Linked DNA regions of Homo sapiens: all the other regions are linked to region 4. Evidence: promoter capture Hi-C in 16 types of primary human blood cells and fetal thymus (Javierre and others, 2016). All regions are on one chromosome and are shown on one strand. Each heading gives the region's core, a stretch centred on a gene start or on the middle of the fragment in contact. The rest is flanking DNA. Distances are from core to core; before and after follow the strand shown. Region 1 holds the start of MEAF6 (MYST/Esa1 associated factor 6). Region 2 overlaps LOC105378657 (a long non-coding RNA gene). Region 3 has its middle 32 kb from the start of LINC01685. Region 4 holds the start of FHL3 (four and a half LIM domains 3). Region 5 holds the start of GNL2 (G protein nucleolar 2).

Region 1 (4,265 bases), core at 443-2,942, 490 kb before region 4:
CAGCTACTCAGGAGGAAAAAGAAAAAAAGAAAAGAAAAATACTGTGAGGGTAGAACTCATGACTGATTAAAATGTGTAAAAAATTTAATAGAATGCTATTGTATAAAGATACTGTATTTAAGCCTCACACAACCCTGTGCCATAGGCCCAACTTTCGCTATTTTACAGATGTGAGCCTTGTCTAAGATTATTCGGTGAGGCAGTGCCTGAGCCAGAGTCCAAGAGTTCAAGTCCAGATCACACCACTACTTTACTACTGCCTCCAGCAAAGTTGCCACTAAGAGCATACAGTCCTAAAAACAAACGTTACTAGGGCACAATAGGAACACTACAGGCTTTCGACACTCACTTTTGGTTGGTCAGATACCGATCCCAGCCACGAATAATATTGCCATACATCTGAGTGTCTTCCAGGTAGCTTCCCTCAAAAGCATAGATCTGTCGCTCCAAATTTGCCAATGTTTCCTGAGAGATGAAAAACAAGGACATGAATGATACCTTTTAAATGCAAACACTTAAGTCTGGCCAAAATGAAATCCTGATATTAGACTCGTAAACGCAAGCTTGCCCACACTAAACCACCCTGTGGAGAGATGGAAGATACGGGGAGGAGGAGCCGTTTAGGACTAAGACAGTCTAGACCTTTGGGGGTGATGGACCCCTGAATGTATAAAGCATGTCTCCAGAAAAATACACACACACGCGAAATTTTGCATATACTTTAGAGGATTCACGGAAACCATGAGTCAAGAGCCCAGGCTAACGCAGAACTTGGGCGATGTCCACTCCCACGCACAAAAGGTATCGCTACCAGGAGAGGGAAAGGTGAGCAGCCTTTCAGCGTCAACTCGCTCCCCTCCCCGCAGGCTCAAGAGAGGCCGCCGACACCGGGCTGCCAGTTGCTATGGAAACCTAGAAGGGCAGCTTCAGGTGAGAGGGGCCTCCCGGGTGCCCAAGCCGAGACGCGGGGGCAGGAAGAGCTTAGCCACCAGAGTGCATTGGGCCTTGGGTGCCTGTCACAATTCTGAATTCTCCGGAATGTGTTCTTCTCCCTCGCCTGTCACCTTCTAGATGTTCCCAAACACATCACAACCCTGTCTATCAAAAACCTCCATTCAACGGATCTACTCCCAGTACCAAAAAGAACACGCTCCCCACCAGCCTCCAAAGTCCAGACGGGGTGACTGGGTCCCCCTCCCACACTAGCCTCCTTCCCCACCCCCTCCCCGCAAAGATCACGGACTAGCCCGCCTCGCCCACCCCCGCGGCTCACTGACGCTCGCCCTTCCTAGCGCCCTCTCCCCGGGCCCCGGCACCGTCCTCCCTCCACGCCCCCTCCTGCGGCTGCCGCTTCCCCTCCCCCTCCCGCGCTCCCGGCTCTCTCCCGGCTCCGGATTCGCACAGCCGGGAAGCTGAACCGCCGGCGGGCCGCAGAATGCGCACCCGGCCTCAGGCCGCCGAGCACCCGGCCCGCCGCGCCGCGCCCCCGGAGTAACAAACGGCCTAGCGCGGCCGGGCTTGGGGCCTGGAGGCGGGGCGGGCGCGGAGCCCCATGCCGTGCAACCCCTGTCCTAGCCCCTCACCGCCAGCTCCTGCTTCCGCTTCACGAGCTCCGCCAGCTCCCGCCGGGTGTCCGGGATCTGCGGCGGCGCCGCCTTGTTGTGCATCGCCATGTTGGGCTGAGGCGGGCGGCGGCGGCGCGAGGTTGGGGGCGGTCCCTGCGCCGCCAGGGGGCGCCCCCCCGCTCTGCGCCTGCGCGCGCGGCTTCCGGAGACGCGTGCAGCGCCGTGCCGAGCTTCGCTAAGGCCGGGGCTCTCGAAGGTCCTTCTCGGAGAGCTCTAGAGATGCGGCTTCTGCTTTCTGCCGTTTCCTGCCCCTCGGCTGGCCGCCGGCTTTACAGACGCCACAAATCCACCGCGTCCAAAGCCTAGCTCGTCCTCAGGCCTCCGAGTCTCCTGTGCGCCCCGCTTCAGTCCACTTCAGTGAATGACTTTCACTATCCACCGAATTGCCTGCGTCAGAAACGCGGTTTTCCTCACTCTGCACCTGGAGTAAAACGCGATCCCAGGTCAAGCTCTATGGACTCGACTCCGGAAGAGCTCGCGAATCCATTTGCTTGTGCCTGCGCCTTCTGCCACCTCACTAGTTCATTCAGGCCCTCCCTGTTTGGGGCTACATTATTCCAGCGGCTTATTTCCACCTTTAGCCCCACTTAATCCACTATCCACAGTGGTGCCAGGATCTTCCAGAAACAAATGTTATCACTCCCCGGTTTAAAGTCTTTCAGTGGCTTCCCATTTTCCCAGTGCCCTTTGGAGAAACAAGTATGTGTAGTGGTTAAGGGCACAAAACTGGAGCGAGAACTACCTTGTTCAAAATCCTATCGCTACATCGATAAAGTGTGCTCCTTTGGGCAAATAACCAAATCTCAACTCCCTCATCTGTAAAATACAAGCAGTAATAGAATCTACCTAATACATTTGCTGTGAGGAGTAAATCACCTAATATGTGTAAGGGGTTTGGCAGGCGCCAATGACTGTGCAAGTACGAGTTCGCTTTTATCGTTAAGTCCAAGGTGTAAACGTTGTTTTCACTTGGCCCCTGTGGATTTCTCCGTCCTCAGCTCTCCATCTTTCACTGTTCTGCAGTTTCGCTATCATAAGTCTAAGTGGGATATTTTTTCTTCCTTTTGTTTTGTTTCTTGCTTGGAAGTCTTTGGATTTCTATAATATGTGGGTTGGTATCTTCCACCAGTTTTGGGAAATCGCAGTCATTTTTCTTCAGATGCCTGTCTCATTTCTCTCTCCTTCTGGAACTCGAACATAAGAAGCTTTTTAACCTACCGTCTATATTTTCCATCTTTTTGTCCCTCTGTGCTGCATTCTGAATAACTGGTTTCGTGTGCGGATCTTGTAACCTGCCATCTTGCTGAACTCCCTTACTAATTTTAGGGGGGGTTGTATAGATTCCTTGGAATTTTTACATAGATAATAATTTCATCTGCAAATAAATAGGGAGTTTTTTTTTTTCTAAGCTGAGTGCTTTTTCTTTTTCTTCCTTATTGTGCAGATTTCCAGTAGTCTGTTAAATAAAAGTGATAACATTAGACATCCTTGCCTTGTTCCCTGTTTTAAGGGGAATGCAGGCCGGGCGCGGTGGCTCACGCCTGTAATCCCAGCACTTTGGGAGGCCGAGGCGGGTGAATCACAAGGTCGGGAGATCAAGACCATCCTGGCTAACACAGTGAAACCTCGTCTTTATTAAAAAATACAAAAAAAATTAGCCGGGCGTGGTGGTGGGCGCCTGTAGTCGCAGCTACTCGGAAGGCTGAGGCAGGAGAATGGCGTGAACCCGGGAGGCGGAGCTTGCAGTGAGCCAAGATCCCGCCACTGCACTCCAGCCTGGGCAAGAGCGAGACTCCGTCTCAAAAAAAAAAAGGGGGGGTGGCGAATGCATTCAGTCTCTCACCATTAAGTATGACATTAGTTGTGGGAGTTTTGTAGATGCTGTTTTTCAAGGTGAGGAAGTACCTCTATATTCCTAGTGTAAACCAAAAAACAAACAAGTAAAAAAACTTTTAAGCCACTGGGTGCGGTGGCTAAATCCCACCACTTTGGGAGGCCGAGGCGGGCGGATCACGAGGTCAGGAGTTCAAGACCAGCCTGACCAACATGGTGAAACCCCATCTCTACTAAAAATACAAAAAATTAGCCAGGTGTGGTGGTGTGCGCCTATAATCCCGTCTACTCAGGAGGCTGAGGCAGGAGAATCGCTTGAACCGGGGAGGCAGAGGATACAGTGAGCCGAGATCGCCACTGCACTCCAGCCTGGGTGAGAGAGTGAGACTCTGTCTCAAAAACAAAACAAAACAAAACAAAAAGCTGGCTGGGCGAGGTGGCTCACGCCTATAATCCCAGCATTTTGGGAGGCCAAGACAGGTGGATCACCTGAGGTCAGGAGTTGGAGACCAGCCTGACTAACATGGTGAAACCCCGTCTCTACTAACAATATAAAAAATTAGCCGGGCGTGGTGACAGGCACCTGTAATCCCTGTACTCAGGAGGCTGAGGCATGAAAATAGCTTGAACCCGGGAAGTGGAGGTTGCAGTGAGCCGAGATTGCGCCATTGCACTCCAGCCTGGGCAACAAGAGTGAAACTCCATCTTAAAAAAAAAAAAGTTGGTGTGCTCCATCAATTCCCGGAGGCCCGACAAAGGTAGCCTGGGAATTCCAGATAAATGGAACAAATGATGACCTGCTAGAAA
Region 2 (4,780 bases), core at 69-2,568, 480 kb after region 4:
ATACAGAAAAAAAAAAAATCAGAGAGGCAAAAAGAAATCCAGAAGATGAGTGTCACGGAAACAGAGAAGACAGAGTTTCTAGGCAGGAGTAGTCAAGAGTGTCAAATGCCATATGAGCATTAAAAGGGTGACAGTGAACTTAGCAATTAGGAGGTGAGGGTGGGGTGGGAGCAAATTTAGTGGAGCACTGGGGGTCTTAACACCGATCTGGATTTGACAGTTGAGACCTGTTTCTTCCTGAGATCGTCTGCTCCCTGGAGACATAGGGCCCAGTGGCTTTTAAACTTTTTTGAGTCACAAATGCCTTTGACAATCTAATGAAAGCTATGTCTCCTGTCTCCAGGGAAATTCACCCACAAATAAAATGTTGTATTTCATTTCAAGGATCCCCTAAAGCTCATCCACTGACCCCCTGGTTTTAAAAAAGTCAAAATTACTTAGTTTCTATTTGCTGAGTTCTGGCTGCAGAGATCTGAATTCTAACCAAATCGTCTGCTTCCTGGGAATCTAAATCTAGACAGAAATCTTCCATTCCTCCATCTCCTGGGGCCCTCTAGCCTCAGCTCCAGCCTGGTTCATTCACATTTCCAGGCTTATTGTCCTGCTTCCTGTCAATCAACTCTAAATCATTACGCAAATTAACATCTCTAAAGCCCACCTCAGCAGCCTCTGCCTGGAGATGTGTAACTAGTGTTTCCCAGGGTCCAGCCTGGGGTACAAAGGGGTCACAAAAGCAGTTATAGAACTGGGAGAACCGCCTGCCGCCCCTGCACAATGCCAGCGGGTGGAGCAGGGCTTTGCTCTGACATCTGAGGGCTTGTAGCCCAGGAACGTTTGTCACTGTCCCTTCCCACCAAACATCTTGGTTCACAGGTCTCTTTTGGCCCTCTCTTCCAGTTTTTGAACATACCTAGGTATAAATGAATTCGCTGAAGTTTCAAAGCTTGTTCCCAGTTTAGGGGATACCCCCAGAAGAAAGGTAAAATCAATGTGTTTTTTTTCAGAAGAAAAGAGGGAGAATGGGTGGAGATATAGAAAGAAGGGAAGAAGGCAGGCAGGCAGGCAGGAGGAAGGGAAGAAGGAAGGGAGGGAGGGAGGGAGGAAAGAAGGAAGGAAAGAAGGAAGGAAGGAAGGAAGGAAGGGAGGAAGGAGAGGTCATCTTGTTGCTAAATCTTGGATTCTTAAATCAACCTTAGCTGTAAAACCTTTACAGAGTAAAGTTGCCAAAATCCCACTCACAATTCTGCTATTACTACAACTAATGATAATAACAGCCACAACCTCACATGTTACTGTTCTGTTATTTTTTAATAAAAAATGTATACAGTTAAGGTGTACAATGAGATGTTTGATATACATACACATAGTGGAATGATTACTGCAGTTAAGCAAATTAACATATCCATCTCCTCACATAGTTACTGCGTGTGCGTGCACACTTGCACGCGTGTGGGTGGTGAGAGCACCTGAAATCTACTGTCATTGAATTTCCAGTATCCAGCACAGTATTATTAAGTACAGTCATCATGCTGTGCATCAGCTCTTTAGACATTCATCCTACATAACTACAACTTTGTACCTTTTGACCAATCTCTCCCCATCTCCTCACCTCCCTGCCCCTGGTAACCATGGTTCTCCTACCTCCTGGACAGAAGAGAGTCCCCTAGCAGAACTAAAGTGAATGGCGATTCTAGTAAGCTTACAGTTGGCTACTTTTCCTGAAAGCTTGGGAAAGCCAGCAAACTCCCCCATAAATCCACCCTAAACAAATTCACACATGAATTCCAGAATGCTATCTGTTACAACTTACAGTTGCGTCAATACAGGATGGAGCTCCCCAGACGGTGCTGGCTGTTGAGTGCTGCAGCGAGTGCGATATTGGCCCTTTAGATTTCACAGACACCCTCTCCAAGTACAAACACACACTCACACACACACAGACACATGCGCGCGCCTACTCCATCGCGGGCTGCGTGGTGTGTGCAGTCAGCAGCCGTGTGGAGAATGTGAAATCACACCTCGCTCTCCTTCCGAGGCAGTGAGATCTTTATTGGTTTGGGAACTGCAACAGTTTGCGTGCTGAGAGGTTGCAGGAGGTTTCCAAGCACCCCATGTGGAGTTTGGTGCTCTGGCACCGTTCACATGGTTCCCATTTTGCCAGATCCTTTCTAGAGGCTCCTTCCGCACAGCCTGGGGAAGGCCCTCAACAGAACATAATGTAAATCTGTGGCTCTTGTTAGTGTTCTCAAAGATAATGCATAGGTTCGTTCAGTATTTGACAGTTCACACAGATTATTTCTATTTCTTACCCTGTTTGCTACTCAAGAGGCACTAGGAGGGATCCCACACAGGAATTATTGACCCTGCTTTGCGGGGGAGGAAAGTGAAGTGCAGAGAAGTCAAATAACTTGCTCAAGGTCAAGTGCAAAGAAGTCAAATGACTTGCCCAAGGCATTAAGTGGTAAAGCTGAAACCAAAATCCGGGCTTCGAGTTCAGGCGCCTTTCCCCTGACTCGCCCTTATCATAATCATAATCTTAAGCTATCTTTACATTTATTGGTAACTTTACAGCACAAAAAGTCACCTATGGAATTCCATATGGCGTTTCATTCTGCTACTTGAATACTAAGACTATGTAATGTTTTCTATTTATTGCGCACAGATCTTTATTATCCTCTCAAGCCTAAGAATTAGGGAACTGTTAGCTAGAAATGAATTTGTGTTTTATGGCAACACTGATTGATAAAATACTGTTGGGGAGCAAGTGATGATGTCATCATGTGGCCTCAGGTTTCGGCTTCACTATTCTATTCGTGTGACCTTGAGCAATTCCCTTCACATAAACAAGGGAAAAGTTGTAGCCAGTGGGCTCCAGAGACATGATCTTAGGTTAGAATTCCAGCTCCATCACTTCCTAGCTGTGCCACCTTGGAGAAGATCCCTAACCACTCTGAGCCTCTGTTTCCTCATTTGCAGAATGGGGATAATAGTAGTACTCTGTCATGAAGGGTGTGTATTAGTGTGCCAGGGTTGCCATAACAAATACCACAACCTGGGCATCTTCGACAACAGGAATTGTCTCATAGTTCTGGAGGCTGGAAGACCAAAACCAAGGTGTCAGCAGGGTTGGTTCCTTCCAGGGACCCTCTCCTTGGCTCACAGATGACCATGTTCTCACCATGTCCTCATGGGGGCTTTCCTATGCATGCACATCCTCGGTGCCTGTGTGTCTGCAAATTTCCTCTTATAAACACACCAGTTGGATTGGATTAGGACCCACCCTAAAGGCCTCATCTTAACTCAGTCACCTCCTTAAGGGCTCCCATCTCCAAATACAGCCACATTCCGGGGTGCTGGGGGTTAGAGTTTTAACATATGAATTTCCAGGGGCAGGGGAACATAATTTTGCCCATAACAGACTATGAGAATTAAATGAAATATTTTGTTTAAGTCACATAGCACAGTGCTCCAGAGCCATCAGCAGGTGTGACCTCTGGTGCTCATCGGTGTAATGGAGATAATAATACCTCTCCCATGGGATTGTTATGATGATTGATGCCAAAGTGCTTCATAACCTACACATCACCTTAACAGGATGAATACTAGGTGCTGGGGTAGGGGTGGTGAAATGAACTGGTCACTTGATCTGGGAATTACCAGGCTATTCCATGGGAGGCTTCAAGGGTATTCTTGCTGGGTCACAGCTGCTCCCCAAGTCACAAGCAAAGAGAGTTTGGGGCCAGGGTAAAGGCTATCTTGGTTTCGGGTGAAGTGGCATGGACAGCAGGTTAAGACTGGTTCAGATGGAAGGAAACACAATGACACTCTCCATGCAGGGATCCTGAACTCAGGTGGAAGCACTCCAGACAGGAACCTGAACGTCTCCAGTCAGTTGCCAGCTGGAAGCTGGTTATTCTAGAATGAAGCCCCAGGGTGCTCAGAAAGGACCTCACTGCCCCCCTTGAGACTAGAGGACTATTAGGTTAAACTACGTGAACTTGCCAATATTTGACTGTTTTTGATCTGCACAACTAGCAATTTCATATAATTTAACTGAATATTAACCTCCACTTTGTGAATTCATGTCTCTGTGCCATTTTATTCTTTGACTGATCCCCATGATTCAACGATTCACTGGTTCAATCTTCAATTCCGCAAACATTTACTGTCGTCTGATGCATGGGCCGTTGTGCTTGGAGTTAAGGAACAAAGCCACCCCTCTTCTTCCTGCCTAAGTTTCAGACGCTTTGAAAGAGATGCGGAGTCAGGCAGATGGAAGCGGAAATGCTTGCTTTGTTACCAATAAGATTGGCTCTGGAGAGCATGCGCAGACAATGGGCCTCCTGATGTTGACCACCAGGATTGGGCAGACCACCATCCAGCCACAAGGGGCGCTAGAAAGCTGCTGCCCTTGCCTTCACTGCCAGGGCTACCCAGGCACAGGTTCTCTGCTGAGACAGCTTCCAAAAAGAAGGGGGAGGAGTTTAAGCTACAAACCTGCTACCTCTCCCAAGCTGGGGGGTGGGGGACCGGAAAGGGAGATCAGAGTGACTAGAGGCCAATTCAGGGCAAGAGTGCAGCTTGCCACCCTACCACCTGGAAACTAAACCAGAGAGAAAGAGGTTTCCCCACAAACAGTAATGGCAGCCCCCACCCCTGCCCTCCCCCCGCCAAATCCCACTTACTGAAAGCCGGTATGTGCACGGGAGACTTTATGAAAGGTTTTGGGGTAATGGAAATAGATTTACATTCCGGCAAAGCTAACACATTATAATTAGTT
Region 3 (4,641 bases), core at 867-3,366, 500 kb after region 4:
ACCAGGCTCTGCAATTGTGAATAAGTCACCTCTCTTCAAGATGGCCAGAAAGAATCTAGAGGAGGGTGACAATGACTTTGTGTTGAGGAAAGGAAGAGCAGGGACAGATTGAAATGACCTGTACTCAGCGTGGTGAGAAAGTTTAGAAGTGGCAAGCTCCAAACCTACTGTCACTTTGGGGGCTTCCACATTCAGCCCATTTAGGTATTCAAGTTAGGGGTTTCCTTTGACATTTGCAGAAGTTCATTTAGAAACAACATAGAATTTGTTACCTTATGCAGTGTTAGACTTTTGCAATTCATTTCTCTAAGTGGTCATGCTAAAAATACAGTCACAAAGGAGAAAGGAACTGAAGACATCAAATAATGCCATCTCCTTCATGCTAAAATGTTTCCAAATGATTTAGATGATGTTGTGGGTAGTAACTTATAAAATGATCTAGAATATTCTGAGAACATCCTTAACCTTTGAGATTGACAACTGGTCAGATAGTTATGCCCTTTAATATAACATTCCTCAATATCCTAATCAATGATAAATTCTGAGCCTAATGATCCGGGAAGGCATCTCTGACATTCTCAACTCATTCATTTCACAAATATTTTATTGAACACCTATTGTATACAGGCCTTGGGCTTGTTGCCAGGGATACAATGGTGAACTAAGCAGACACAGTTCCTGCCCTCAACCTGCAGCAGGGTGGGAGATAGAGATACCATAATTCTAATACAAACAGATAAGCTTTGCCAAGGGAAATAAAGAAATGCTATGAGAGCCCCAAGAGGGGCACCCAACCAAGCTCAGATGGTCCAGAAAAGTTTCTTGGAATGGTTGACTTCTAAGCTGGGACCTGGAGGATGAATAGGATGTGGATACATTTGGGAGTCGGGAGACCATTCAATCCCCTATAGTGCATGTGGAGGTTGGGTCCCAGCTCCCTAAGATTTCTGTTATGGGTTGCCAAGATGTCCATTTTACCAGGGTGCTTGTCTATTCCACCTGAAATTACATAAGCTACCCGGCCCTGGACATCTGTGCAATGTTTCAGGAAGCCATAAGAAGGCAGATAGTTTTATTTTTTCAAAGCCTTTCTCACCCAGAAGGGCAGACAGGGTCTCATTATTTGTGGGGACAAGAAAGATACGTAGTAGAGGAAACATTAATTCAGCAAAAGGTTCATTCTTTTTTATGTACAAATTATGCAACGTAATTGTTTTACCATGATTAATATTATTTCAGGGGCCTAACAAACACCATTTACAATGCAAATCTCCTCAAGGCTGCAGAAAGGTACCTGTAATCAGGGAGGGTGTGATGGCTGCCCAGATGGAGTGGGGACAGGATGGAGCGAGTGAGAAAGGGTCACATGGCTCATCTTTGAGCACAGCATCAGAAAGGCCAAGTGGGCATGGCGGTCTCCTCCTTGCTGCACCCAGCAAAGGCTTCAGGAGGACTTTCTGCATCTGTCAAGCATGCCCTCTGAGCTCTAAGCCAATGTCTCCATTTCTACCCTCCCTTCCTGAGGCTTCCCTTTAAAAAGTCACATGCCTTTACTCCTAACCAAGAGAAAGCCACATGACTAGGTGGTGGGAAGATGGGAAATTGGAAAATAACAACAAGGGAAAATGTGTCAAAAGTACCCATCTGTTCTAATTCATCCCATCATTAATAACGTCTCCTCCCCCTCTTCCAGAAAGAAAAAGCAGGAGGCCTCCCACTGGGCTGTGTCCCCATCTCCTGGTGCCATCGCAGGGGCTCACGTGATCTACCGCTTTGATGTGGTTTGATTCTCTAAACGTGTGATTAGCACACACTTTGTACCACACACCCAGTTTTAGTCGTCTCTAGCACTCACCAGTTAGAAGCCCCCAAGCCCCACCACCAAATTGCCCTTGCGAGATAGCTGCTCTCTCTAACTCAGCTTCCCTACGCAGAGGAGCTCCTGATGCTGAATGAAAAATCACCTCGCTCTGCCTATGCTCAAACAGCACAAAACACATCCTGGGAAATATCCTCTGTCACTCTGGGATACAATTTCTCCTTACCTCTTTATTCCCATTGCTTCCAATGTCCTGTGTTATAAATGTGTAAATTCAATAAGCGTGAAATTTTCCAGAGAGAGAGGGAAAAAATCATTATAGCATGGCATATATGTTGGTGAATTGTTAATTTGCTAGAGCAACAATATCACTGCGATGTTACAACTGGTTTCCTTAGTAACATGTTAAAGTATATAGGAAAACACTTTGGGGTAATAAAATGTTCCCATTTGAATTTTGAATAAACTTTCACACGAGGTAAGGAAGTGGGATTCTAAAAATAACAGATTAGGTAATCAATTAACTTATTCAGTCATTCCATGGAATTTTAAAATATGAAAATATTGCACTTGCTGGAAATATGTCAGGTTACCAGAATTGTGTCTCGCTGTGCTGGTCAGTTAAATTTTGAAGAATTACTTAGAAATTTTTTCCTGTTTAACACTCAGCAATGTATGGAAACAGCTCACCTGGGCATTCTGAAATGAAGAGAGTTTATTCTTAAGGGTCCAATAATCAAAAATAAATTACTTTCCTGGTGCTGGAATCCAGCAGCCCAGACTTCCACATCATAATTTTCTGGGGCAATGGTTTTCAAACTTCACTGTACGTCAGATTCCCCTGGAGGGCTGGTTAAAACACAGATTGCTGGGCCCTGTTTCCCAGAGTTTGATTCAGGAGGGCTAAAGTGGAACCTGAGAATTTGCATTTCTAGCAAGTTCCCAGGAGGTGCTGATACATCTGGTTCAGGGACGACACTTTGAAAGCCATGTTCTAGGGGAAGCCTAAAAAATGATCACTCTGGCCCTACATATCTGAGCAATAAAAAGGGATTTCATATCATCTTAAGACAATCTGAATCTTAAAGCAATGGCACAGAGATCTTCTTTCCTTATTCATCATTTATAAAAAGCCATGGCTCACGGCTGTAATCCCAGCACTTTGGTCGGCCGAGGTGGGCGGATCACCTGAGGTCAGGAGTTCAAGACCAGCCTGGCCAACATGGCGAAACCCTGTCTCTACTAAAAATACAAAAATTAGTCGGGTGTGGTGGCACACGCCTGTAATCCCAGCTACTTGGGAGGCTGAGGCAGGAGAATTGCTTGAACCCAGGAGGTGTAGGTTGCAGTGAGCCGAGATCGCACCATTGCACTCCAGCCTGGGCAACAAGACTGAAACTCTGTCTCAAAATAATAATAATAATAACAATTAAGGAGATGGGTCCATTCTCCTGGGAGATGGGGAAACATAGATGGGCCTAGAGGCTGCATGCCTTCCAAAGAGGATAAACAGGGAGTGGGGCCCTCACCTGGCATCAGGCCAACATCACACAGCATGAAGCAGGGCCTCTATTTTTAACCAGCTCCATCGCCAGTGCTCAGCAGGCAGCCAGACACCAAGTAGGAGGTTGGCCAGATGCGCTTCCACTCGAGTTAAGAGTACACTCAGTGAGAAGCTTGATTTTGTTACAGGTTTTACTAAATGTATTCACAAAGTCATTGGTGACAGGAAAATGCTTAAATCGCAGTCCTTGCCCTTTAGCTCCTAATATGATAATCCAGGTCTCCAGGTAGACAGTCAGCGTAAAAAGTAGAAGGTGCCCTGGGCTGGAGTCAGGACATCTTGCTTCTGGTCCTGAATTTGCCGTGACTTGCCATTTACCTTGGGTTCTCTTCCCTTTCCAAGAGGGTCAGACCAGTGTTCTCCAAGAACCCCTTCCAGCCCTAGTATCATAGGAGTTAACCTTAATCCTACACTCATTCACTGTTTTTTGTTTTGTCCTTTTACCATACCAAATCAATTTCAGTTTGCACTAAAGGAAATTCCCTAATTACTGTTTTGTATCTTGCGGAAGATCACTTCCCACAGTTAATTTCTCAACTTCAGTTTCCTTCCTCCAGAAGCTTGCTGTGTCCACATTTCAATTAATTGCCTATTGGCACACACCCGACTCCAAATATTTGTGCAGTTCCCAAGAAAGCCTCATTCAGCTAAGTACCTGATCGCGTCAACCTGCTCTCTGGTTCCAACATCTCAGAATATCCAAGCGAGGAATATGCAAATGCTAGAGTCACCCAGAGAGAATTCATCAGGGGAGGGAGTCACTGGAGGCAGGGAGGGAGTCTCAGATGAAAGATATTATCGCTTGCTGGAGACAAGGGAAATTGGGGTGGGGGAAGGGAAGAAGTAAAGAATCTGAGGACTGCAAGCGCTTGCACCTTACAGCACAGGATGCTGTTTCTTCAGAGAAAGGCCAAGCAGATCAGCTACATTACAAATATGCTATGGAGCTACTTGCAGGGAGCCAGGGTTTGTTTTAGGAGCAGGCAGAAAAGGGAGTATTATTAGAGAGGCTACCCAGGTCTCTGTGCCAATAAATTCATTACTCCTACTTGCTGACAAACTCCTACTATTAGAATCACTCTTCAATGTGTTTTATAACATTGCAAAATGTTTGGGGTATACTGCTCAGTAACAAAAGGGGTATGCAAAATTATATAAACATGGGAATCTCAAACACATGGAAAAGACAAGAAAAATATGCCAATGCTGATTTGCCTCTGGGTGGTGAGATCATGGGAAAGATTGTCCCTACTTTATA
Region 4 (4,417 bases), core at 507-3,006:
CCAGAGCTCTTCCCTCTCCCTAAAAATGCTGCCCTGGTGATGAAGCGGATGGTGACATGGGGGTGGTCAGTTTTTAAGGGCAGGGGAACAGGAGATGCACCAGAGCCTGGCTCTTCTCCTCAGCTGCTAGCCCTGTGATTGGAAGACACCCAGAAGCCTTTCCAATGCCCCATGCCAACCATTCAATCCTTCTGCCCCCACCCCCAACATGCCCACTGTCCAGGAGGACCCTGGCCAGGTCCCACAGCTGTGAGTCAGGATCAGAACAGACCCCTCCCCCACCTTCTAGAAGCTGACAGGAGACTTAAGGGGAGAAATCCAACTCCCTCAACCCTCACCCTCTGCTACCGGGCACCAACCCCAAGCTCTGCTCTCCCCCATGTGGCCTGGAAGTCAGAGAAGTTTAGGGAAGGGGGTTGGGGAGCAAGATCCCGCAGCTGCTCTGGGGACATGAGAGGAACAGTTCATTCACCCTGGGTCCCCCAGGGCTGAGGCAGCCCATCCAAGATTTGAGTTCAAAAATAAGTTGGGGCTGTCTTGGTGGCTGTGTGTGTGCGTGGGGCTCTTCTTGATCTCGAACTTACTGTCTCAGGGCCTCTGCCTCATGGGGGATCGGTAGGCTCAGAGTTTCTGTTTCCCCACAGCCTCACCTCCCAATGGTTCAGGCCCGGGTAAGTCAGGGGCTGTCCTGGAAGCTGTCAGACCACCTAGGTCTCTCTGCCCCCACTTAGTCTCAGTTTCTGGTGTCTGTCTCTGCTTCACTCAGCATCTCTGTGTCTGGGCACACTTCAGTCTCTGTCTTTAGGTTTTGGACGGCTCTGTATCTTGACTGGCTGTCCCCCAGGGGGCCCATGCCTCTGTGGATCTCAAGTCTTGGTCTCTTCTTGTCTACATGGCTGAATGTCTCAATCCCCACCACCTCCCTTTCTCTGTCTCTGCATCCAAGTCTCTTTCGCCACCTCTGCACGCCTGAATGTCTCTGTCTCTAGTCTCTGAGCGTCTCTGCAGGCCTCAGAGAGCAGATTCAGCATGAGGCCAATGACGCCCAAGCCTCAGGGCACCTCCAAGGCCCGGGGAAGGGCCCTAGGGAATGTGTTCGCTGGGGTCCCACGTATGCTTTTTCTGAAAATGCTCCACAAAGCCTAGGACGGCCCCCATGCCTCGGGTCTGTCCACCAGTAACTCTGTACGCCCGGTGTGTCCTTGTTTCAGTGGTCTCGGTAGCCTCCTGTGCCTCGAGTCCCTGCCTGTCTCGGTCTCTCGCTCCACCGGGCTTTCCGAGAACCTCAGTTTCTCCAGCGCTTCTGGTCGGTCGGTCTGTCTGTCTCTCTCCGGCTTTTCTATTTCAAACTTAGCCCCCTCCCCCGCCCAACTCTCGCTGCCGCCCCCGCCCCCGCCCCGCCCGATAGCCCGGAGGGGTCCAGTCCCGGCGGGCGCTGTCCCGGGCTCGGCGTGCCCCGGGCACCCGTGGCCAGAGCCCGGCGGGTACAGGGGACCGGGGCCGCGGCTGGCCTCAGCCCTCCGCGGGTCCCTTCGCTCCCCGGCCTGGGCGCGGGGGCGGACCGCCAGGGCTGGGAGCCGGGGTCGGCGGGGCGCTCACCTCGAAGCGGGCGGCGGGAGCGGGGAGCGCGCGGCGCAGGCGGGGCCGGGAACCGGGCGCCGCGTCCCTCGGCGGCTCCTACCTGCGGGCCGGGCCAAGCGGGGGCCGAGCGAGCTGCCGGCGAGGCTGCCGACTGCAGACGGACCGTGTGGGCGAGTGGGAGCGCGGCCCCAACCCCTCCCCGAGGAAGTGAGCGCGGGCCCGCCCCGCCCGGACCCCGCCCCCGGCCCCCCAGCCCGCCGCGGGGGCCAGACCCCGCCCCCACCTCCCTTTCGGCCGCCAGTCGGCCCGGCCCCCTCCTCCCGCCCGGCCTAACCTGGCTCTCCCAACCTTCAAGCGGCCGGGACCCCGCCCCTGTCCCCTCCCCGCAGCCTCTGTTCTCCTCCCCTCCCACCCCCCATCCCCAGCTGCCAGAGGGAGACTGCTGTATTCCATCTCAGGCCGGCGACACGAGACCCCGCAGACCATGGTCCACTGGGGGAGTCCTCTGGCCTCCTCGGATCCCCCCACCCCTTCACCTTACCCCAGGGGTGACACTCAGCCCGGCCTTAATCCAGCCTGGAGGAGGACGTTTTGACTCTGCTGTCATGAGCCTGTCAGCGGGCACCAAGGTGTTCTCTGAAAACATGGGACGAAGAGAGGACCCCTCCCCACCATAGGGCCTTGACCTCCAAAGGGTTTTATTCCACAACTTTGAGTAGCAAAAACAGGGGTAACCACCTCCCCACTTCCAGCAGCCTCCTGACACTGAGAAGTCCTGCCTTGCCTGGGTTTCCGCAGTGCCCAGGAATAGTTTTGACCTTTGAGGCCCGGGGGAGACCCTAATCCTCGGCCCCATGATCTTTGGGCTTCTAGGGTGGGGTGTGAGGAGTGTGAGAGGATGGGGCACCTCAGGGGTGGTGGAGGAGAGGGGAGGGGACCTCTGCGGTGTCTGAGCCTCTGGCTTCCTCCCTGTGTCCGTGAGGGAGGACTGGCGCCTGCTAGGGACACGAGGCCCCTCCAGGTCCTTAAGGCCACCCCCCCTGGGATCCTCAGGCTTGTCACTAGGAATAAATAGCCTCAGTCTGGAAGAGGTGGGGGAGGGAGGGAGGCAGGAGGCTCTACTGTGCTGTTTGTGGAAACAAGAGACAACAAATCAACCCCGGAATAACCTTAGCATCTAGAGTGAAGATTCAGGTGCCCACAGAGGCCTCCCCACACCCCAGGCTGGGTGTAGCAGAGCTCTCACGGAGGAACTAACACCCTCCCAGGCTGGGGCTCCTGAGAACCTTTCCGTCCCATCTCTGCATCATGCCTGGGTTCCTGGGTCCCAAGTCACCCACCAGGTCTGGTTTCCTTTCAAAATTAAATCATTGCTTGCTTATTATTGCTGTTGTTGCCTAAATGGTAAGAGCCATGAAGGCAGGGCTCCGTTTTGTTCCCCACTGCCTTCTCAGTACTTACTCCAATATCCGGCACATAATAAACATCTGATGAATGAATGGATACCAGACACTGCTTCAGTATGTATGCCCCTCTAACATCCTCGGTTTGGATCACAGGCACCTGCTATCTGGAGTCCAGGCAGTGAGCATCCAGCCCATGGATGGGGCCTTTTTCTGGGATTTTTTTTTTTTTTTTTTTTTTTTTTTTTTTTGAGATGGAGGCTTGCTCTGTTGCCCAGGCCGGAGTGCAGTGGCGCACTCTCCGCTCACTACAACCTCCACCTCCCAGGTTCAAGCGATTCTTCTGCCTCAGCCTCCCAAGTAGCTGGGACTGCAGGTGTGCACCACCACGCCCGGCTAAATTTTTTTTTTGTATTTTTAGTAGAGACGGGGTTTCACCATCTTGGCCAGGCTGGTCTCAAACTCCTGACCTCAAGATCTGATCTGCCTGCCCCAGCCTCCCAAAGTGCTGGGACCACAGGCATGAGTGACCATGCCCAGCCTCTCTGGGATGTATCTTGCAGGTGTAAGAGACTCCCAGCCCAGGGGAGTGCAGTGAAGACTACTCAGCCTTGGTGGAGTGGGTACCAAGAGGAGGTCAGCTCTGGGGGACGGGAGGGCAAAGGTGGGGAGCCTTCAGAAAGCAAGGGGTTATGAGTGAGTACAGAAGGGGCCTGATAAAAGGCAGAGTATTGGAATCTCTGTTCTTGATGCATGGCTCTAATCTCTCCTAAATAGCCTTAATGAGAGCCAGTACTTCCTGAGTTCTTTCTTTGCACCAGTCCTGAACACTTTACATATATTGACATACCTGATTATTCAATAACTTTATTAAATATATGTGCATCTATATTTGTTTGTTTTTGAGACAGTGTGTTGCTCTGTCACCCAGGCTGGAGTGCAGTGGTGTAATCACGGCTCACTGTAACCTTAACCTCCTGGGCTCAAGCGATCCTCTTACCTCAGTCTCCCAAGTAACTGGGACTACAGGTGTGGGCCACCACACTGAGCTAATTTATTTTAATTTTAATTTTTTGTAAAGGCAGGGGTCTTATTAAGTTGCCCAGGCTGGTCTTGAACTTCTGGGCTCAAGCAATCCTCTTGCCTCAGCCCCACAAAGTGCTGGGATTACAGGCATGAGCCACTATTCCTGGCCTAAATATATATTTTCATCCTCATTTTAAAGATGAGAAAATGGAGGCACAGAGAGATTAAGTAACCTGGCAAGGGCGACACAGGTAATAATGGCAAAGCTAGGATACAAATCCCAATGGTTGGCCGGGCTTGGTGGCTCTTGCCTGTAATCCCAGCACTTTGGGAGGCTGAGGCAGGAGGATTGCTTGAGCCCAACAGTTTAAGACCAGATCTGGGCCAGGCGCGATGGCTCACGCCTA
Region 5 (4,747 bases), core at 113-2,612, 410 kb before region 4:
ATCCCCAACAGCCACCCCGCTCGTAGTCATTCTAAGCAATGCCACTCGAGTAACCCTCCTTCCCCTCCAGTGCTCCTCGGAGCCCTTCCCTATACTTCCTCCAAGCTCCACCCTCGATCAGCCCTGCCGCCTGTACCTGGGTTTGTGCTGGCCTTGGACGGGTTGATGGTGCTCCGTCCTTTGTACTTGGGCTTCACCATCTTGGCGACGAGACCGGGACCGGAGTGCGAGGTCCGGCTTACGTGGTGAAACAAACTTTTATGTTCCCAAGCCCGGCCGAAGACACCCGCCTGAACCACGCCGGACCACGTGTGCACGACGTACGTCACTTCCGCTCGCGTCCCTCTCGGCCTCAGAGCGACTTCCTGTGAACGCGCGGCGCGCGCCGTCACCCTCCTGGCTCCGCCCCCGCTCCAGCCGCCTAGGCGTCGCCCTGCGTGGAGCCCCAGCCCGCTCCAGCCCTAGCAACCGCCAAGCTGCCCGTTCATAGCAACCGCCTAGTTAACCTGAACGCGCGGCCAGAGCTCCCAGTTGGGTCCACCTCCGAATAAAGAAGCTTCTTCCCAGGCCAGTGGCACAAGCTTAAGTTTGTCTTCTGAATTTGTCTTCTAAGTCCTTCCAAAAGTTGCCGACCACACAGCAGCCAAATATCCGTTAGGAGGTGTCATTCTCTTCCTTACAACTCCAGTGGCTTATCATCACTCTTAGAATGAGAGGTAGGGGAAGGGAGAAGGGAGAAACAGACAGAGACAGAGATTGATTCAAACTTTTTGCCATCCCTACAGGATTCTGTGATCTGGCCCCTGCCTGCCTATTTATCTAATCTCATGTGTACGTCCCTCCCTCTGGTTATTCTGACATTTACACTGGATATTCTCTCTGCCTGAATCACTCTTTCCCAGAATCTTTGCATAGCTGTCATTCAATCCTAAGCTCAAATATCACCTATTGGTAGGCCTGCAAGAATTAGCAAATAGAAATACAGGACACCAAATTAAATTAGAATTTCAGAGAAAAAAAATGAATACTTTTCTTTAGTACACCTCCAACAGTGCCTGGAAAATACTTAGACTAAAAAAGTATTCATCGTTTGCCTGAAATTCAAATGTAACTGTACGTTCTGTATTTTATCTGGTGACCCTTCCTGCTGTGAGAACTCATTCCTGTCTAATTTGTCTAAATCAGCCACCTTTCACCCTTTCACAGTTATTCTGTTACAGTATTCTGTTTTATTTATTTCATGGCATTTATCACTAGTTGAATTTTTTTTACAAGTTTATTGGCTGCTTCCCCCAAACTAGAATGTAAGATTCTTAAAAGCAGGGACCTTGTTAATTTGTTCACTGCTGTGTCTTTAAGACTTGAATAGCATCTGAAACAAAGGACTCAAAAAATATTCATTAAGTGAAAGAATGAGTAGATGGGAATGTCTCTTGCCTTGAGGATGAAGGAAGGCATTAAGACCCAGTGATTTCTGTTTCTACTAGCCAGAATAAAGTGTCTAGATGCCAGTGTTTGAACCAAGAAGCCCTCTCTCTTTTTACAATTTATTTTTTGTTTGTTTGTTTTTGTTTTTGTTTTTTGAGACGGAGTCTCGCTCTTGTTGCCCAGGCTGGAGTGCAGTGGCCCGGTCTCGGTTCACTGCAACCTCCACCTCCCGGGTTCAAGCAATTCTCCTGCCTCAGCCTCCCAAGTAGCTGAGATTACAGGCGCATGGTATCATGCCCAGCTAATTTTTGTATTTTTAGTAGAGACGGGCTTTCACCACATTGGCCAGGCTGGTCTCAAACTCCTGACCTCAGGTGATCCACCTGCCTCAGCCTCCCAAAGTGCTGGGATTACAAGTGTGAGCCACCTCGCCTGGTCCCTCTCTCTTTTTTGGTACCTCAAATTGTCAGAAAATGGCCATCTTTGTACCCTCTGGATAGGCCAAAGAAGAGATGGTTAGGCAAGAGGAAGGGTGGATTCATGCAGTGTAGCTCATTTCATAAAAACAAACAATTTGTTATAAAGTGAGGTATTCTAATTGAGCAGGGGATGATTGAGTCTTTATTTCTCTGAGTTTGAAACAAACCCCAAAACATTCTCTTTAGAGCAAAAGCAGGCCATGTCATAGGCTAGAGCTGGAAATACCTTCTGTCCCTCAAGCTTCGCTTTTATTGCCCCAAGGGCAAGTATCATGAGATTAAATGCAGCTCTGCTGGGAAGGCCCTGACTGTGACCTGTGTTAGGGAAGCTCTGAGAGCTATTTGGAAAAAACTTCATGATCAGTGAAGATGCCCCCTTCCACCCCACACTGTCCCTCTGATCCCCAAAACAAGGATACCATAGCCTCCTCCCAGAGAGAAGATTCAGTTAATGTGTTTCTGATGCCTCAAGTTGGTGCAAACCAGAATAAACACGGATGGCAAAAATCAGCCTATGAGCTCATTCAGGCTTTGATCAGAGACATAATTTCATTATGAAATTTTGAATCAGGCTGTTGTGAAGTCTTGCCAAGGAGTTTCATTTTCCCAGATGATATGGTGGGTTGTTTCTCTCCTGTTCTCATACTCTGCTTGCATTTATCTTACAAACTTTCCATCTATTTTTATAATCTGACCCATCAATCCTTTTACAACAATATTTGCCGATCTCGACAACCAACTTCAATTCTACCAGCAGATAAAAAGCCTGATCAAGGTAAGTCAAGCTTAAGTTACTGGTTTGATTTGCCTGCCCTGCTTGCCGCATTGTAATGCAGTGACTATTTTTCACTCTCTTTTCTGATGTCATGCCAACTAGCAGAGGCAAGATACACCTCCAGGTCTACAGTTCCTCAGCTTTAAAACAGATGCAATAGCTTAACTACTCTGAAAGACTGCAATAAGATCATATGAGTTACAGTATATGAAAGCATCGCAGACATGGTACACATCATGCAGATGGGATGCTTTCTATTTTTCTTCTTTTTTTTTTTTTTTTTTTTGAGATGGAGTCTTGCCCTTTCACCAGGCTGGAGTGCAGTGGCATGATCTCAGCTCACTGCAAACTCTGCCTCCTAGATTCAAGCTATTCTCATGCCTCAGCCTCCCAAGTAGCTGGGATTACAGGCACGCACCACCATGCCCAGCTAATTTTTGTGTTTTTAGTAGAGACGGGGTTTCGCCATGTTGGCCAGGCTGGTCTCAATTTCCTGACCTCGAGATCTTCCCGCCTCGGTCTCCCAAAGTGCTGGGATTACAGGCATGAGCCACTGCACCGGCCAGGGATGCTTTCTATTTTTCTCAAAATCCAAGGTGAGCTACTCATCCCCTCAAATGTTGCTCCTGGTAACCACAGGTTTGTGTGAATGAGAAGACCTTAATGGATGGAGACTGGCTGGAAATGCCATGTTCTGGACTGGTGTCTTCACAGGAAGCAGACAATCCTGACCTTACTTTTTTTTTTTTTTTTTTTTTTTTCAGATAGAGTCTTGCTCTGTCACCCAGGCTGGAGTGCAATGGCACGATCTCAGCTCACTGCAACCTCTGCCTCATCAGTTCAAGCAATTCTCCTGCCTCAGCCTCCCGAGTAGCTGGGATTGCAGGCACCCACCAGGACACCCAGCTAATTGTTGTATTTTCAGTAGAGATGGGGTTTCGCCATGTTGGCCAGGCTGGTCTTGAACTCATGACCTCAGGTGATCCACTTGCCTCAGTCTCCCAAAGTGCTGGGATTATAGGCATGAGCCAGTGTGCCGGGCCCTGACCTCACTTTTATCTTCATTCTGTAAAAAGTTTATCACTGGGGTCTAATGGGCAAATAGCAGCAGCTTCTAAAGCAACATTTTTTAAAGTGTGGTCTGAGAACCACAAGCATCAGAATCACTTGGGGGATCTGTTTTAAAATGCTGGGCATGGTGGCTCATGCCTGGAATCCCAGCACTTTGGGAAGCAGAGGCAGGTGGATCGCTTGAGCGCAGGAGTTCGAGATCAGCCTGGGTGACATGGTAAAACTTTGTTTCTACAAAACATACAAAAATTAGCCAGGCGTGGTGGCTCAAACCTGTAGTCCCAGGTACTTGGGAGGCTGAAGCTGGAGAATCTCTTGAGCCTGGGAAGTGGAGCCTGCAGTGAGATCGTGCCACTGCACTCCAGCCTGGGTGACAGAGTGAGATCCTGTCTCAAAAATAAAATAAAATAAAACAAAAATGCAGATTTCTGGGTTTTATCCCAGAGCTTCCAAAATCAGACCATCTTGGGGGTGGGGCCAAGAGAATCTACATTTTAGCAAGCTCCTCAAGTGATTCTTGTATATACAAAAGTGAAGTCTTTTCCAAGAGTCACTCGGAGGCTTTCTGACCTGCTGACCAGAAGGCAGCCCTGGAAGATCAAGCTTCTTTCCTACCTATCTTAAATCATCTTGTTCTTCTTAGCAGAGCCAGGGTGAGGAAGGCTGCTGCAGTGTCTAATGCACTCTGAAAATATATATCTTGGCTCTGCCCCAAATGCCTTGATATTTATGCTGCAGCCGGAGGGTCGTTATCCTTTGGCAATGCTCATTTGTAAGGCCATTAGCTCTTAATTAGTGCCGGCTTGTTGAGTTGTACTTCCCAGTTGAACTGCTAGCAGAAGCTGCTCTTTTGGGGCCTCTTGTGTCTCTCCTCTGGCAAGCCCATGAAGCATTGACCCGTGCCTGCTGAGGCCAAGAGTTGGGCCCCTGGAATGGCCGCTGCCCAATGTGAAACAGTCCTAGTCCCCAAATGCTAGGTTCTGGGACTCTGGAA

What was found. The method cuts DNA at HindIII sites, captures the fragments that hold promoters and counts their contacts. A CHiCAGO score of 5 or more calls a contact.
Region 1: a contact is called between the fragment with the promoter of MEAF6 here and the fragment with the promoter of FHL3 in region 4, in 7 of 17 cell types (fetal thymus, activated CD4 T cells, total CD8 T cells and 4 more). The highest score is 8.7, in fetal thymus.
Region 2: a contact is called between a fragment that was not itself captured here and the fragment with the promoter of FHL3 in region 4, in 1 of 17 cell types (total B cells). The highest score is 5.9, in total B cells.
Region 3: a contact is called between a fragment that was not itself captured here and the fragment with the promoter of FHL3 in region 4, in 1 of 17 cell types (total B cells). The highest score is 5.7, in total B cells.
Region 5: a contact is called between a fragment that was not itself captured here and the fragment with the promoter of FHL3 in region 4, in 1 of 17 cell types (fetal thymus). The highest score is 8.2, in fetal thymus.

What each region holds. Positions count from the first base shown.
Region 1 is chr1:37,513,074-37,517,338 of GRCh38, forward strand. MEAF6 (MYST/Esa1 associated factor 6) reads right to left here and starts at 1,693. Exons shown (of 7, transcript NM_001270875.3): 1 at 1,584-1,693; 2 at 350-465. The coding sequence starts at 1,673. RefSeq lists a silencer at 1,278-1,877. The HindIII fragment of the contact is 2,267 bases long and covers 562-2,828 here.
Region 2 is chr1:38,485,595-38,490,374 of GRCh38, forward strand. The region is part of intron 2 of LOC105378657 (a long non-coding RNA gene); the gene reads right to left. Among named protein-coding and RNA genes, the nearest start is that of LINC01685, 13 kb to the left of the region's middle. RefSeq lists enhancers at 1-171, 4,022-4,780, 4,243-4,537. The HindIII fragment of the contact is 755 bases long and covers 942-1,696 here.
Region 3 is chr1:38,504,394-38,509,034 of GRCh38, forward strand. No RefSeq gene overlaps it. Among named protein-coding and RNA genes, the nearest start is that of LINC01685, 32 kb to the left of the region's middle. The HindIII fragment of the contact is 2,754 bases long and covers 740-3,493 here.
Region 4 is chr1:38,003,758-38,008,174 of GRCh38, forward strand. It overlaps FHL3 (four and a half LIM domains 3), which reads right to left and starts at 1,757. Exons shown (of 6, transcript NM_004468.5): 1 at 1,600-1,757. RefSeq lists an enhancer at 1-575 and silencers at 1,428-1,787, 1,818-1,877. The HindIII fragment of the contact is 9,980 bases long and covers 1-4,417 here.
Region 5 is chr1:37,595,623-37,600,369 of GRCh38, forward strand. GNL2 (G protein nucleolar 2) reads right to left here and starts at 315. Exons shown (of 16, transcript NM_013285.3): 1 at 137-315. The coding sequence starts at 200. RefSeq lists an enhancer at 44-233. The HindIII fragment of the contact is 1,567 bases long and covers 580-2,146 here.